Linked DNA regions of Homo sapiens: region 2 is linked to region 1. The links are contacts of gene promoters, found by promoter capture Hi-C in blood cells and fetal thymus (Javierre and others, 2016). All regions are on one chromosome and are shown on one strand. The core of a region is centred on a gene start or on the middle of the fragment in contact, and the rest is flanking DNA. Distances in the headings are between cores, read along the strand shown.

Region 1 (2,511 bases), core at 5-2,504:
AACACCCACCATGATGTCAAGAAGAGACCAGATCTCTTTCTCCCCTGCCTGACATAGTCAAGGAGACAAACTGCACCCACTCATGGGATCCAGCCTCCTGTCTCATTCCCCCTCCCCCATCCTGATCCCAACAAGAAATGTGTTTGTATTTCCCCAGGAGCTGATGGTTAGGACTGCTGAAACATCAGAGAGGCACATCCTTTTTTTTTCTTTTTTTTCTTTTTGAGAGGGATTCTTGCTCTGTCACGAGGCTGGAGTGCAGTGGCGCAATCTTGGCTCACTGCAACCTCCGCCTCCCGGGTTCAAGTGATTCTCCTGCCTCAGCCTCCTGAGTAGCTGGGACTACAGGCACGTGCCACCACACCCAGGTAATTTTTATACTTTTTAGTAGAGATGGGGTTTCACCATGTTGGCCGGGATGGTCTCGATCTCTTGACCTCATGATCCTCCCACTTCGGCCTTCCAAAGTGCTGGGCTCATAGGCGTGAGCCACCACGCCCAGCCAGGCACGTCCATTTTTAGAGGTTTGGACACACAGAACACATCTTCCCCCCTCGCTTCCTATTGAGACCTCTTTCCCGTTTCTCTGAGTTTCCAGGACAGAAAACTTCCTTGGGAAATCACCCCTTCATGTGAACAGGCCAAACCATGCAGTGGCTTCCAATCAGATTGAGGCAGGGGCCTTTCCCTACATCACCCCTCCCACCCAATCTGGACATCAGGGTCTCTGATACTGTCAGATGCTTCGGGAGAGAGGAAGAGGAAGAAGGAGAAACCAAGAAAGCCAAAGAATGTAATTCGCCCCACCTTGTTCGCCCACTTTGTCCCTCACCCACTGGGCCGCCGCCTTGATGCTTTCGCTCTTGGTGACATCCAGTAGGGTGGTCTGCAGCCGATAGGAGGTATCCCGCTGAAGTTTCTGGGATCCCTCCTCAGTGAAGCAAGCAGCCAGCACCTGCATGCCCCGATCAACCAGCTGTTTGGCCAGCAGGTTCCCGAAGCCAGAGTCACAGCCTGTGATGAAGACGTACTTCTCTGAGAGGTTGCCAACCAGATTGCAGTTCTTGAACCAGCGATACATAAATGAGAGGTCTGTGAGGGCCGCCATAGGGCAAGGGGAATGTGATGGCCAAGAGGGACTGGGCTCAGGAGACAGCAGGGAAGAAGCTGGTCCTCTGAGCCCTAGCAGGCAGTCTGCAGGAAACCACCTGGAAGAAGAACTCTCCTTCCTCCCACAGCTTGCAACAAATCTAGGTCCCTGGGTGAGCCACGCTGTAATTTTTATAGGTGGATGCATCACCACAGCAATTAGCCCAGATGCAAGAAATTCAAGTCCAACCTGAAGCCTTGTCACCTCTGACAGCCCTGGTAGCTGCCTCCCTCTCTCCCCCTGCCCTGATGGGTAAAGCTGCCAAGAATTGGAAATAATCCACTTGTAATGTTGGTGATGAGTGGTGGCTCACCCAGGCGGTGTAAGGCAGGCAAATGAAAGATGAGGACTCACCCCAGACAGCTCCCCTAGAAATCCTGTCCCCACCCTGCCCCCAACCCAGCCTGGGGATTTTGGTCTCCAGGGATCAAAATCATTTGTCGTGAGTGCAGGTATGTAAATAAGTTTATTTTCAGGGAAAATACTCAAGACAAATTTATTAATGTAAAACAAACAACATTGGTTCTGTACCTTCCAAACCCCAAGAGAAACAAGTCGCAGGTCATCAGCTCTCTGGAATTCTTAGGTAAGTCTCCATCATGAGAGAGGATGAAAAGCAATGGATTTCTCCTAGGGTGGATGTACCTCCATTGTCCTGAGGCTAGAGGCAGCAGGGCCCTCCTATAGGGGAGGCTGGCATGTGAAGCTTAGCCACCAGAAAGCAGAAAGACCTGGGGGACTCAGGCCTGACACCCTGTGGGGGTCATACTCAGGTCACCAGTAAGCAGCCCTGGGCAAGATGATGAGGAGGGATCATGAGTTCACTGGGCAGCTGAGGGAATTGTCTGGGCAGAGGCCTTGACTGTAAGAGGGGATGAGATATAGGAGGAGCAGAGAACTGGGGCCAGAGACATAGAAAATTCTCAGGGTCGGGACTTGGAGGAGAAACAGAGATTCTAGGCAATTTAGCAAATAATTTACAGAAAGCTAAGAGGTAAGGTGGTAAAGGAAAGGAAATAAGGAAACCAGAGGTGTGAGTAGTGAGGGGCCACACCCAGAATTGCATAAGATGCAGGGAATGATGCTGGAGCCTCTGTGGTTCTTTGGATCAACATCTAGGGTCACCATTCCTTGGGATGAGCCTGGTCCTAGCTCACACCTTCATGGCTTAGCGAGTCTGACACAGAAATGGGACCACAAAGTTCTCTAGTGTGAAGGGACAAAGGATGTATCTCTGTGATCCACCATTTGCCAAGTCTGACCAGCGTGGAATCACATAAAGCAGGTGTCACCCTGGGAAAGCCCCGCAGGGTTTGGCCGTTCCTTAACAAAGTAGGGGAGGGGGCCAGATTATGAACCCA
Region 2 (2,511 bases), core at 9-2,508, 54 kb after region 1:
TGTCCATGGAGGGTCCCTCGGTGTGAGGTCGAGGAAACTATTTCATAACTGGTGGGCAGGATGTAGAGGGGCAGGGAGCTGGGGGAGTAGGTGTGGGACAGAATAATCCAGGGTTTATTTGCACTGGGCCTCTCTCCCACTGTCCATGTTTGCCCAATTTCTGTCCCCTAATTGAAGGAAGAAGTGGAGATGGACTGGGAGGGGGAAGGAGAGGTTTCCTGCAGAAACCAGAGGCTAGCAAAGAGCCGCGCGCCCCCTGGTGGTTCTTCTCTAGCCCTGCAGTCACGACGTGGGCATCGGCCTGGGATCAGCCAAGGCTCTTCAGCTCATCCCAATGGCCACTCTCTCCAGCATCGGGGAGCCCCCATATCTCCCTGCACGGATCCTCCAAGAAGGAGGGAAACAGCAAGACTGCTGGCTGGTAAGAGACTGGACTACTGTTAATTAAGCAACATGGATGGTGCCTTGAGTGTGCTGCATACTAGAGGTTTGACAGACTCGGAGCCCCTTGAGGGCTCCGAGACTGAGTCCAGTCATTTTTGTATTTCCAGCCCCGGCAGTGCTAGCTTCTAGCAGAGATGAAGGAATGTTGAGGTAGCTGACACTGCAACATCTGGCTTCGCTTTCCATTTTCATCACTATTTCTTACATCATGCGACAATATGAGATTTCCTAAAGCCTCCATTTTTCTCATCTTTATAACGAGGGAGGAGAATCAAGATGACTTTGTCAAGTCCTCCCATCTCCAATTTCAGGGAGTCTAAGAATCCATATGCCTTTATTAAAATGGTGAAAACTTAGAAAGATGGGGTCTTGGGAAGCACTGGAGAATTTCTGACCAGCATACATTAGGTGCTCAACAAAAGTTAACAGAAACGGAAGAAATCTGGAACCAACAAGAGACTTACCACATCTACAGAGAGGCTGGGGGAGGGGTGCAGATCAGGAGATGGGAGAGTGAGGGAGAAACAGAAGCTGGGAGAGATAGGAGACCAAAGGAAGGGGGAAGGGTGGCGGCATGCGGGGAGGCTGCTAGTGCTGTAGGCGGCAGAGGGATATTAATAGTACCTGGGGCCCTTCCAGTCTCTTATCAGTCTTTTCAAGCTTCCTCTTCCTTAGACTGATGTCACACCCTCCCTTCTCACACTTGGGAAATCACAGAGGAAACAGTTGTCCTTCATCTAGTGAAAGATAGGGAATGGGAAGCAAAGACATTCACTTTCCCCTTTTCAAATCCCTCCGAGATCATCCTACAAATCCCTCAGCCTTCATGAAGGAGACACCTCCTTCCTCATGCAAGAAATTTCCTAGAATTCCCAGGGCTGAGTCAGCTCCACACAAGTGGATACCCAACATTGCTGTTTTTATCCTGACCCCAGTCTAGCAGAAGCTCTCCAAGGGTCATTTTTTTTTAAAGCTTTTGGACATCATGGGCCCCTTCGAGAATCTAAGGAAGGTTATAAGCCCCCCACATAACACAACAATCAAAAACTTGCTTATACTTTTCATACAGTTCACACCTAAAACCATTAGCTGCATGGAATCCAGCTCAAGAATCCTTGTAATATGGGCTTATTGACCTACTAGCTGTGTGACTGGGGCAAGTTATTTAAAGTTTCTGTGCTTCAGTTTCCTTGTCGATGGTAGTACCCACTCCATGAAGTTGTTATGAGGATTAAATGAGGTGATATGGATAAAGCCCCTTACAACTGTGTCTAGCCAATGGTGCGTATTCAATAAACATCAGCTGTTACTATTACTACATTTCTCTGTGGTAATTCATAGTGACATTTGGGAATGTTCCCACCCTTCTATGTAAAAAACACAACCCAAGACAGCCAAATAAAAGAGGAGGCTCATGTTGATCTAATTCAGAGAGGAAAAAAATGGCTGGTGGTAATAGGACTAGAGAGGTCTCTCAGTGTCAATTCCACAAGATGGGATTCCTTTTTCCTTATCCCCATGAAGTGGAAAAGGAGCATGCTTGTATATATTATCTCATGTATCCCATATAATAACCTGTAAGGGAAGCATCATTATCCTCACTTTACATATTAAGAAACTGACATTAAACTCCTATCTCTCACCAGACACAAAAATCAACTCAAGATGGATTAAAGACTTACATATAAGACCCAAAACTATTATTAAATTATTAGAAGAAAATCTAGTATTGCAGGAAAAATCTACTATCTAGTATAAGGAAAAGTCTCCTGGACATTGGACTAGGCAAAGAATTTATGACTAAGATCTCAGAAGCACAGGCAACAAAAACAAAAATAAACAACTGGGACTTAACTAAACTAAAAAGCTCTGCACAACAAAAGAAATAAGCAACAGAATGAACAACCCGCAGAACTGGAGAAAATATTTGTAAACTATTCATCTGACAGGGGAGATATCCAAAATATACAAAGAACTCGAGCAAGAAAAAAAAAAACCCCACAAATAATCCCACTAAAATGTGGGCAAATGACATGAATAGACATTTTTCAAAAGAAGACATTTTTC

The links. The method cuts DNA at HindIII sites, captures the fragments that hold promoters and counts their contacts. A CHiCAGO score of 5 or more calls a contact.
Region 2: a contact is called between a fragment that was not itself captured here and the fragment with the promoter of SDR9C7 in region 1, in 5 of 17 cell types (M2 macrophages, M1 macrophages, megakaryocytes and 2 more). The highest score is 9.3, in M2 macrophages.

What each region holds. Positions count from the first base shown.
Region 1 is chr12:56,933,154-56,935,664 of GRCh38, forward strand. SDR9C7 (short chain dehydrogenase/reductase family 9C member 7) reads right to left here and starts at 1,255. Exons shown (of 4, transcript NM_148897.3): 1 at 808-1,255. The coding sequence starts at 1,108. The HindIII fragment of the contact is 2,217 bases long and covers 1-1,854 here.
Region 2 is chr12:56,987,454-56,989,964 of GRCh38, forward strand. The region is part of intron 2 of LOC124902945 (a long non-coding RNA gene); the gene reads right to left. Among named protein-coding and RNA genes, the nearest start is that of ACKR5, 5.8 kb to the right of the region's middle. The HindIII fragment of the contact is 313 bases long and covers 1,103-1,415 here.